Regions from separate parts of the Homo sapiens genome. Here region 1 is linked to region 2. Evidence: promoter capture Hi-C in human tissues and cell types (Jung and others, 2019). All regions are on one chromosome and are shown on one strand. The core of a region is centred on a gene start or on the middle of the fragment in contact, and the rest is flanking DNA. Distances in the headings are between cores, read along the strand shown. Region 1 has its middle 27 kb from the start of RUSC2. Region 2 holds the start of CCL27 (C-C motif chemokine ligand 27).

Region 1 (5,702 bases), core at 2,413-4,912, 800 kb before region 2:
GCTGGCTCAAAGCAAACCATCCCCATTGCTAGATAATGGGAGGTTTCATCTTTGTGCTACTGATGGGAAGGTCTTTGAAGACAAGACTAGAAAAGTAGGAGGAACAGGTCTAACTGGGACCATTCCCAGAAACTGATATTTTAAATTATTTTTTATTATGGAAAATTTAAAACACCAATTAAAGTATATAAATAGGACAACAAACCCCCATGCACCCGTGTACCCATCACCCAGCTTCAACAATTGTCAATTCATAGCCAGTCTAATTTCATCCAAACCTCCTCTTCCCCTGCCTTCTCAGAATAAATCTGTCACATTATGCAATTTCATCTGTTTAATATATAGTTCTAAATGGTTAAGATCTTATTTTAAAACACAATCAAAACCAGTATCACTTAAAAATTAGCACTAAACGCTTAATATCATTCAGTATCAAAAACTGGTATTTGAGAGTTGAGTGAGGGGCCGGGGAACAACAAAACAAAGGAGAATTGGGATAAAACACATAAAATCTGCTTTTATTCCTAGCCCAGTCCAGATTCACACTGAGTAGCTCAGCTCTTTGTGATGAGGGTTTCTCTGGGGCCATGCAATCTTTCCTTCTCAATCTTATTCCCACTTCTTATCTTTCTCTTCAATTAATCATGTGAAAACAAAGCTATTCTCATGGTTCAGATAAAGCCTCAGTGAATTATTGATCTGAGTTTGAGTTCTACTGCTCAAACTAAGCCACCAGAAAGGAAGACCACTTCTTATCAGCCCAAGCCCCAGAAAGCAGGGCTACCCTGACAGCCTGAATCCTGAAGGTGTAGGGCACAGTGTTTTCTTTCTTCATTGCTAGAGCTTTTCCTGCCATCATGAGGCCTTCAAAGCCCTTGCAGATGTTCTACATTTCTTTTTATTGTGATAGGGTTTTTTGGTACTTAGTCTTTAAAGCTTCACTTTACTTCCTTTCCATAAGGAGAAAGAAACAATAAATCATCAGTTTGTTTGGTTATTGCTACAGACCCTAGAGATTACTTAATACCAGAGCTAGTCAGACCAAAGAAGCACAGACAGCCTCCCATTTAGCAAAAAGTGGCTTCAATAAAGAGTGAAATAAATAATTTTGTCACTCTTGACAAAACTGACCAAAATCAAGGCCACTGGTCTCATAAAGGTGCTCCCTGGCCTCAGGCAGCCTGTCAAAAGAAAGCACTCCTTGGGCTTTTGGCCCTTCACATCTGTGTTTTACATTGTGCCTTACCCCAGAAGGAGATCCTGGATCTCTGGCACCATTTCAATTTCATGCACTTTGCTCATTTGTCTCACAAATACACTCCTAGTTAACAGATCATGATTTAGAAGGCATTGTCACTGGGAGTTCTGGTCACTGGGGAGAGAGAAGGGATCTAACCCCCAGCTCAGCGGTGGGCTCATCAGGAAGGAGCTTTGCTAAACGTGCTTCCTGTGTCTGCCAGATTTTCTTCTAAGAGGCATTTCCAAAAAATGGGGGAAAATGAAGTGTTTAAATCAGGAAGGATTTCTGGTTCAGTTTACTTCAAGAAATGGAAGTGTTTTACATATGACTAATTGACAATGTCCTGGCACAAATACCACAGAAACAAAACTGCTGAGCTGATAAGAACCTAGCTAATTCAAGAACATTTCTTCATTTAATAATTCAATAGAGATTTACTAAGCACTACTTTGTGCAAGGCACTTCCAAAAATATGAAGATGAATATGGTGTAATTTCTACTGTAGAGGCTCATAATCTGTTGGCTAAGACGTTCATTCATTTTTTTCACTCACTCAACAAATAATAATGAAGCTCCCATTATATGTCAAGGATCGTTCCAGGGACTTAGGGACACAGTGGTGAAAAAAGACAACATCCTTGTGGAGAGAGGTAGACAACAAACAAGAAATGAAAAAAATACCATTTAGTGATAAATGCTGTGAGGAAAATAAAACAGGTTAATAGAATAGAGGGTCTTGATGGGGGTGTTAGAGACCTTTTATCTGAAAAGGTAGCATTAAATGATGAAAAAGAAGCAAGCCATGCAAAGACTTGGGGGCAGACATTGCCAGCAAGGGTAAAGGTCCTAGGGTAGGAACAAGTTTGCTCTCTTACTTGACTTGCAGTTTTCCTGGGTACAGATTTCTAGGTCAAAATATTTTTCACTAAGAACTTTGAAGGTATGACCCTACTGGTTTCTAGGACCCAATGGTGCTTTTGAGAAATCCGATACCAATCTGCTTCCCATTTTTGTTAATATCTTATTTTTATCTCTATAAGAATTTTAAAGGGATTTCTCTTCTCTGTAACTAAACCTTTCTAGTTTGATCCTCTGTTTAAAAACAAATTATTTCTCTAATATTTTCTGTCTCTGTGTCTTTTTGTTTTATGGTCCAGGAGAGATTTTAATCCTTTAATGGGTTTTAAAAAAATATTAGCAATCCCATTTTTGATTTCCCAAATTCTATTTTGTTGTTGTTCTTAGATATTTTTCTTCTTTCCCCCTTTTAAAGCAACCTATTCTTATTTTATATATGTAATTGTTTCTTTTCTCTGAGACTAGTCATAAAAATGTTTTAAAGTTCTTTTCTTTTCTCTTCCCTGAAATATAATTTGTTTATTCTAGGTTCAGGTATTTTTTTTTAAGATGGGATATTGCTAAGTTGCCCAGGGTAGAGTGCAGTGGCTGTTCTCAGGTGCAGTAATGGTGCACTATAGCCTTGAACTCATGGGCTCAAGTGATCCTCTTGCCTTAGCCTCCTAAGTAGCTGGGAACCACACCCAGCTTCCAGGGTCAGTTATTCTATTTGTTCATCCTCATCCACCTTTTTATGCTACTTGTTTCCCTCTAGTCCACTTAAAAATATAAGTAAAATAATAGTTTGATTATTATAGGTTGCTGGAGTAGATTTCATTTCTTTTGGTTAATTTTGTTTTCCTAACAGGCCACTCCCTTGAATGGGAAACCATGAGTTCTCTGTTGGTAGAAAGAATACGTTTTTTAACAAATTTCACCCTAGGATGTACAAGAAACTTGCAGGCAAACTCAAGCCCCCCAAATTTAAAATTAAGTGGGTTTTACTCTAAGTGCTGACACTCAGATTTACAAGCCTTAGTTCTCTGCAGGTAGGTTGTTAAATTTCTTTCAAAAGCAGTTCTTTTGTTTGGGACTGGTTATTAATCCTTTGTCAGATGGACAGTTTGCAGATATTTTCTCCCATTCTGTGGGTTGTCTCTTCACTTTGCTAATTGTTTCTTTTGCTGTGCAGAAGATTTTAAACTTAATGTGATCCCATTTTGTCAATTTTTGCTTTGGTTGCCTGTGTGCTGGGATTATAATGAGCTCAAATAACTCTACAGGAAAAAACCTAATAGTCCAATTTAACAACGGACAAAAGATCTGAATAGATACTTCTCAAAAGAAGACATACAGATGGCAAACAGGTATATGACAAGGTGCTCAACATCACTGATCATCAGAGAAATGCAAATCAAAACTACAATGAAGCCAGGTATGGTGGCTGATTTCTTATTGCTCAACGTCCTTTTCTTTCTAGTTTAAGGACTCTCTTCAGCATTTTTTTGTAGGACAAGTGTGATGTTAATGAAACTGCTCAACTTTTGTTTGTCTGGAAAAATCTTTCTTTTTCCTTCATGTTTGAAAGATATTTTTACTAGATATACTAGTCTAGGTAAAGTTTTTTCCCCTTCAGCATTTTAAATATGTCATGCCACTCTCTCCTGTTAGATATGAGTTCTAAATTTCTTTTCAGAGAATTAATATGTCAGTATATTCAGTTATTTGCCTTCTACTTTTAAACTTAACTTCCTCATAAAGCAACCTTTTTCGATTACCTACTCCACCCTGACTCATTCTGATCACCTGCTCCACCCGAAATCATTCCAATTACCTGCTACCTGCTCTTCTGCCCTGACTCCTGCCAAAGCACTCACCCCATCATTCTCTTTAAATTAGCCAATCGGAATTAGTTTAACCTGTGTGGTCTAACCCTAGCCAATAGGGGAATGACACAGCAGCAGGGACCACGTACACCAGGGATAAGAACCCCTTCCCCTCCCTTGTCCAAGTGTGCATTCACCATTGTTCCATCTGTAAGGGCACACCCTTCTATATAGAAGTAACTTGCCTTGCTGAGAATTAAAAAGAAAATTTTATATTTGAATGCTATTTCTTTTGTGGCACCAAAACTTTATATATAACAATTTGGGGGGCTCGTCCAGGATTACATTCCCCTCCAGGACTGTCTCTGGTTCTCTCTCGTGAGGAGGTGCACCCGGCCCTATTGTGGCGGCCTCAGGGGTGAGAAATCAAGACCCACCCAGTGTGAGGAATAACCTGAGCTCTTAACAACACGAGGGGTCAGGGAGAGGGGGTACTGGCCAGCAACCTAGCTTAAATGATCCTCACATACTGCAGTGATGACTCTGCACAGACCAAGGAAGGAGATGCCATGGGAGCCCGTAAAGTACTTCCTTGGTGGTCAAATTCTGGAGGGCTAAATGTGTGTGTGTGTGAATGATCACCAACAACCCTGCTTGTGGTGTTATTCATGTGGATGGTGACAAGTCCTACTGCTCGACGGAGTGAGTGGGTCCTCTCTGCAGTTCCACAGCTACCTCATATGGCTTAGGGCGGATCCTGCCATAGGATTTATACTGGCATGCCAACACTAAGAAGGGCCTGATTCTACCTTGGGGGAGCAGCCAGAGAGGGCAGCATGAGTAGGAAGTGTGCAAAGGACCTTCAGAGGGGGAAAAGGGGAGAAACAGATCAACCTTCCAGGACAGGCAAGACACCCCTGGTTTGAGGGGTTGAGCCTTCCAGGACAGGCAAGACACCCCCTAGTTTGAGGGGTTGAGCCTTCCAGGGCAAACAAGGCAAGATGCCCCCTGGTTTGAGGGGTTGAGCCTTCCAGGACAGGCAAGACACCCCCTGGCTTGAGGGGTTGAGCCTTCCAGGACGGGCAAGGTGAGACATCCCTGGTGTTGAGGGGTTGAGCCTTCTGCTAATTTCAAGGGTTGAACCTGACACAACCCCCCCGCTGCCCTTTCCTTTCTTCTTGGGGGAAGAGAGAGTAGTTCCACTCCCGTAGGTCCCTACCCTAGGGGAAGAGAGAGAGAGACAGAGAGAGACAGACAGAGAGGAGAGCGAGATAGAGACAGAGAGGAGAGAGGGAAAGAGAGGCAGAGACAGAGAGAGAGGGAAAGACGCGGTGGGGGGGAAGAGAGGCAGAGAGAGACAGAGAGGGGATAGAGGCAGAGAGAGACAGAGAGGGGAAAGAGGCAGAGAGAGAGGGGAAAGAGAGGTGTGTGGGGGGGAAGAGGCAGAGAGAGACAGAGAGGGGAAAGAGGGAGAGAGAGAGGGGAAAGAGAGGTGTGTGGGGGGGGGAAGAGGCAGAGAGAGAGAGGGGAAAGAGAGGCAGAGAGAGAGGGGAAAGAGGCAGAGAGACAAAGAGGGAGTCAAAGAGAGAAAGAGAGAAAGTCAAAGAGAAAGAAAGAGAAAAATAGAAGTAGTAAAGAAAAAAACAGTGTACCCTATTCCTTTAAAAGCCAGGGTAAATTTAAAACCTATAGTTGATAATTGAAGGTCTTCTCTGTGACCCTATAACACTCCAATACCACCTCTTTGTCAGTGTAAACAAGGGTGTAGCCCGAAAGCACTGAGGCCACTGACAATCTGT
Region 2 (5,815 bases), core at 2,878-5,377:
AGTAGAGACGGGGTTTCACCATCTTGGCCAGGCTGGTCTTGAACTCCTGAACTCGTGATCCACCCACCTCGGCCTCCCAAAGTGCTGGGATTAAAGGCGTGAGCCACCGTGCCCGGCCACCTGTCTTCTTTACTACTACATCCCCATGCCCAGCACAGTGCCTGACACACAGGTGGTCATTCAGCAAATATTTGTTGATTGAATGAATGTAGCAAAAAAAAAAAAAAAAAATCACAAGAAGATAGGTCTCAGACCAGAGAGGAAGGGCAATGACCCTCCGGCCATTCAGTGACTTAGCCGAGGCCACTCAACTAGGTATTTCCGTAGCCTGGCCTTTTCTAGACTGGACTCTATCTGAGGACCTATTCCTCCTCGGCCCAGGGTCATACAAGGGGAGGAAGGCAGGCAAGAGAGGCACTCGGCAGGGCAGAAGCCCAGGGAGGGGTAGAGGAGACGTGGGGATTAAGAAAACAGTACTGGACTTAGTCCCAACTCTCTTTTCTTGCTGCCTGCTGCGGAAGCCTCGGCCCCCCAAGGTGTAGCTCCAAAACCTGACCTGACACCTATAAAAGAGGGTCCTTTGCCCGCATCTTAATCAACCGACCCCGCCCCTGGCCTCACCCCGTAAGATGACGTTTCGACTCCGCCTCCTCTGGGAGACATGAACACCCCACCCCTTCCGGGGGACAGGCAAACCTAGTGCGCAACGGCATCCCTGTGACGTAATAGTAACGGTCCGTTTCCGGGGTGGAGCCAGGGAGGGCGGGAGTTTAGGCTGCGCTGACCCCTCTCAGCCCCCCCTCCAGGTGACCCCAGCCCCTGAAAATCCTCACCCAGGGCCCCAAATCTCCCAGCCCCATGACCGCCAAACCTCTCGCCCTGGCCCCCTAAATGCCCCAGGCCCCGGAGATGACCGGCCTCCTCACCCCTTAACTTCCAGTGCCTCCCAAATCTCCAAGCCCACCCTGTCCCGTGGTGGCAACTGAGGCTTCTCGGGGGCATCAGCCTCAGATTACCTGAGAACTGGGCAGCCTCGTCCTGAGAATGACGGAGAAGGGGACCTGGGGCTAGGGAATCCCTGATTCAATCATGCCGCTCCCCAGGAGACGTTCGGAGCCCAGGACATGTCGGGAATGAGGAGATACGAGGTGGCGCTGGAGGCGGAGGAGGAGTGAGTGGAGGCGGGTTCTGCGGAGGAGGAACCAGGCGGCTCCGGGGTGGGGGAGGGTGGAGTTCTGCGGGGGCGAGGGGTGGGCAGGGCGAGCCTCCCAGGGGCGTGGGCGCGAAGGGAGCCGCTTTTAGAGGCGGGGCGGAGCCTTCCTCGACGGCGAGGCACCGCGGGGCGGAGTCTGTAGGGTCAGCTCCTCCCCGCCCCGCCCCGCCCCGCCCGGCTCTGCCCTCTCTCTGCAGGATCTACTGGGGCTGTTTCTACTTTTTCCCCTGGCTTCGCATGTGGCGGAGGGAGCGGAGGTGAGGAGGCTGCGATACCGCGGACCCGCCCCGGGCATGGACGGGACTCAGTCTCTGAGGACCCATCGGGGGGAATCCGGTAGCTCCCGCCCCGCCTCATGCCAGTGTCGGGTCGCCCCACAGCTCGGCGCACCCCGGGGAGCAGAAGCTGGAGCCTCTGCGAGGCCTGATGAGCTGTCTGTCCAGCGGCCTGGGTCCTACTCCCCAGCGCTCGGGTCGTGGCTTCCCCCGCCGCAGCCCCACCGCCGCTGCCCAGCCAGCCAGTGCATTAAAGATTTAAACCGAAGCCCACCGTACTGACCTCCTGACTCTGCCGCCGCTGTCGCCATTCGAGCCGAGCGCCCCTCCCCACACGGGCTCTGTTCCGTACTGACAGGGCGTCCCTCCCTGGAAGGGTGCCCTTCCACGTCAAAGCCCCTCATCAGTGTCAGGCCTCCTGTTACTATCAATGGCTGTCTCCCCCAATCCCAACCCCCAAAAACCCATACTGTGAGTCGCCTATATGAAGAGAACTAAATAATCCTGCCTGTTACTCCCTTCCTCGGAGCGAGGACTTTGCCAGCTGTCTGAAGAATCTTCTCTGCTGGGAGTATATCTAAAACATTTTAAGCAGAGGTGTAGGATGCAGGCTGTAAATGGTAAGAGGGGGAGATTCCTAGAAGCTGCCTGCCACAGAGGAGCGACTTGGGTTGGCGACCTTTCCTACAGTTCATACCCCAACTTTTGGCTCCTCCAGTCTGATCCCAAGTTTAGAGATCCTTGGCATCAGCCTACCTAGAAGTTCTTGCTCCCTCCCTAGGAGAGTCCAAGGGCCACTGCTCTTTGCCGCCCCCTTCTGTCACCCAATCAGCCTGGGACCCACTAACTCCTCAAGTGGTGAGAATCAGGGACTGCTATGTGGGCCTGCCTTCAGTTAGGGACTGGACCCAGCACCAGAAAGGGCACCACAAGATTAAGTTAAAGAAAGAGATGGCCCAGTTTCTGGCTGGGGCCAAAGCTACAGCAGATTGTGGCTGGGGAGAAGACTTGGTCTTAAAGGGGAGAGATGGGTGCACACCCAAAAGCATTTGTTTTCTGCCTTCCGAAGACTTCTGGACCGACAAGCCCAGGGAAGACCAGAAAGTATGTAGCGCACAGCCAAGTGATGAAGAAGGTCTATGACAAGCCCGAGGAACCTGGGAGATTTCCTTGGGATTTCCTCAGTGGCTACACCCAACAAGCCTTGGGACACAAGAGAAAGGCCTAAGCCCTATCCCAAGAGAAAGCCTACTCCATAGAGAGTGGCTGACCCTACAGCAGACGACTGCAACAAGATAAGGGCTGGATTACTGTGTTATGACTTGGTTTATGTTTCAAATATAGAGCAGGACTTGCAGATTGAGATCCCTGGACCAGGAGTGGGAAATTCTTAAAGGAGCCAGGGGCACTGAACTTGGCAGCATACCCCCACCCTAGGCAGCTCCCAGCTTCCTGGAAAGGACTGGATAAAGATGAATAGGAGCTTTGCATTGCAGGGAGGGGGTAAAGAACGGAGTGACAGCTGGGTATGGGATTAGGAGAGAAGCGGCTATAGCTGGAGGGTGGGATGCAGGGGGTATAGCAGTTGGACATGAGGGTGTGACTGAACCCGGGTAGGGAGAGGGGATGTTCCTCCAGGCCCAGGAAGGAGGCTGGAATTTGAGTAAAACAAAGATGTAATTGAGTGCTTGAGTCCAATGTCTTCAACAAGTCAGGGACTGGATCTGGAGACCCTAGGCCCCTGCTGGCAAGAGGTTGGCATTCCTGGAACAGGACTAGACAAAAACAGGAAGGTAAGATTCACTGGGCCTTTTACCTGTTTTGACAACAGTAACCTAGCACCAAAGAGCTTTTATCTTCCCTCCTTATCTACCCCACCTTTCCTCCCTGTCTCATCATCCTGGGGAAAGCTGCCCCACCTCAGCATCTCCAAAACACCCTTAATATTACCATAAAGGGCCTTCCCCCAGCTTCTCTGAATGGGGCTGGCCTCAGCCAAGAACCCTCCTCAGCCAGAAGGGCCTGCTCTAGGGACCCATTCCCATCCATTTCTTCTGATAAGACAGGCAGGCCAAGCCAGGAAGTGGGGAGGAGAAGGTGAAGGCAAGTTGGTGCTTGCCTGCCCTCTGCTCCCACCCCACCCACAACTCCCCTGTCAGAATCTGTGTGTGCTAGTGTGAATTTGCTTGTGATTGGATGACTGTGAAAACACAATTGGGTGGGAGAGGGACTTTGAGTATAACCGGGGCTATATAATTTTGTCTACGGTTGTCTGATCATGAGTATGACTTTGTGAGGTTGACCAAGTGATTGAGGAGTGACTTTGAATGTGTGGCTATGCGTATTTGAGTGTGAATGTCTATCATTAGATGCTGCTGTGGATGCTTGACTGCCCTTACTCACTGTTCCATCAGTCCCTACATCACACACTAATCCTTCCCCCAGCTTCACTGCCCAGAGCTTAGGAGCACATGGGAAATGGCTATCCTAGATGAGGAAGGAGTCTGTGGCAACAGGCCGAGAATTAGGGCCCAGGAGTGTCACAGGTTACACAGTACATCTCCAACTGCCTCTGACTCACCTAGTGCCCCAGGTAAAAGGCACCCAGATAAAAGGTAGGGGAGGAGGAGAGAGAGAGAAGGAAGAGTCTAGGCTGAGCAACATGAAGGGGCCCCCAACCTTCTGCAGCCTCCTGCTGCTGTCATTGCTCCTGAGCCCAGACCCTACAGCAGGTGAGTACTTGGGGGTATAGAAAGCTGGGGGTCTGGGTGAATGGGATGAAGTTGAAAAGACCCAGGAAATCCAACCTAACCTCCAGCTGTCTGGCAGAGAGGTTCTTGGTCAGGATCCCTCTGAACACATGGCCCTGTTGCCCCTAGCATTCCTACTGCCACCCAGCACTGCCTGCTGTACTCAGCTCTACCGAAAGCCACTCTCAGACAAGCTACTGAGGAAGGTCATCCAGGTGGAACTGCAGGAGGCTGACGGGGACTGTCACCTCCAGGCTTTCGTGTGAGCTCCCACCCCTGATACCCCTGACTCTGACCTCAGTCCCAACCCCTAATGCTGATCCCAACCCCAGCCCTAACTGCTAATTCTGTTGCCAACTCAGGTTTTCATCTGGTCCTTGCTCCTAACCCCTAATTAGGGTCATTGGGGATGACCCTAATCTCATCCCCAAGCTATGGTCATAGCTTTGGACCTTTCTCTACCCAGGCTTCACCTGGCTCAACGCAGCATCTGCATCCACCCCCAGAACCCCAGCCTGTCACAGTGGTTTGAGCACCAAGAGAGAAAGCTCCATGGGACTCTGCCCAAGCTGAATTTTGGGATGCTAAGGAAAATGGGCTGAAGCCCCCAATAGCCAAATAATAAAGCAGCATTGGATAATAATTTCTGAGTATAATCTCCAAGAACTTCCTTATTCTCTTTATTCACACCTGCACAACCCCTGCAAGGGGAAAGGCCAAGAGCCAAGGACCCACACACACTCCCCAGGCACCTACATACATGCATGCAGAGAATACATGTTCCCTGCCTCACAGACACATGGTCACACATGGACACAGATGTACACATTACACACGTTCCTTGAGCAGAACTCCAACTCTGGGGTGAAATCAGAGGTACAAGCACCTTTCAGCTGCAAATTTGAAATACAGGGTCTCACAGAAATGGGCTCCAAACAGAACTTCCAGCTGAGATCCAACCATAGGGATCTACTGTCCTGCCTGGTTTCTATCCACACCAGCAAGACAGAATTATAGGTGGAATCTGCCGAAGCCCTCCTGGGTCCTCTACAGGTTTGGAGCTCCTAGAAGAAGCAGGAGGCAAATCAGGAGAGACAGTAAGACCGGATCTTGGCCCAGACACCCTGAGAATGAGGGAGGTGACTCAGTTCTAAGCTTAACACTCTGAAGATGAGTAGAGGAGCCCAGCTCTGAGGGAGCCTCTTCAACACACTGAAGATACGGGAGTGGACCTAGCTCTGGGCCCAGGCACATTAAGAATGAAGGAGGGGACCTAGCACTGATCCAAGACACCTTGAAAAAAAAGGATGAATATCCAGCTCTGAGTCTAATACCCTGGAAGAGTATTAGTACTAATACTAATACCCTGAAGGGAAGTCCACCTGGGGTCCTTCCTCAGTACCCTGAGAGGAGGGAAAGAGACCCACTTCTGAGCCCAGGGACTCAAGAATGAAAGGCCCAGCCCTCAGCCTAGACATCATTAAAATGAGGAGACCCAACTTGGATTCCCAGCATGTTTTAAAATGACTAGGGCAGCCAGCTCTTAATCTGGACACTCAAAATAGGGGCAAACATCT

The links. Contacts are between HindIII fragments. The study calls those that stand out against the background at their distance.
Region 1: a fragment that was not itself captured here is called in contact with the fragment with the promoter of CCL27 in region 2 in 1 of the 25 tissues and cell types used here (hippocampus).

The regions. Positions count from the first base shown.
Region 1 is chr9:35,460,130-35,465,831 of GRCh38, reverse strand. It overlaps the pseudogene ATP8B5P. Among named protein-coding and RNA genes, the nearest start is that of RUSC2, 27 kb to the left of the region's middle. The HindIII fragment of the contact is 6,634 bases long and covers 346-5,702 here.
Region 2 is chr9:34,660,969-34,666,783 of GRCh38, reverse strand. It overlaps CCL27 (C-C motif chemokine ligand 27), which reads left to right and starts at 4,127. Exons shown (of 3, transcript NM_006664.4): 1 at 4,127-4,220; 2 at 4,368-4,500; 3 at 4,705-4,894. The coding sequence starts at 4,151. The coding sequence ends at 4,840. IL11RA (interleukin 11 receptor subunit alpha) reads right to left here. Exons shown (of 13, transcript NM_001142784.3): 13 at 4,882-5,302. The coding sequence ends at 5,286. It overlaps LOC730098, which reads left to right and starts at 739. Exons shown (of 3, transcript NM_001320038.2): 1 at 739-1,171; 2 at 1,411-1,470; 3 at 1,594-2,621. The coding sequence starts at 1,125. The coding sequence ends at 1,750. It also overlaps a transcript of PHF24 not described here. RefSeq lists a silencer at 1,165-1,414. The HindIII fragment of the contact is 14,352 bases long and covers 1-5,815 here.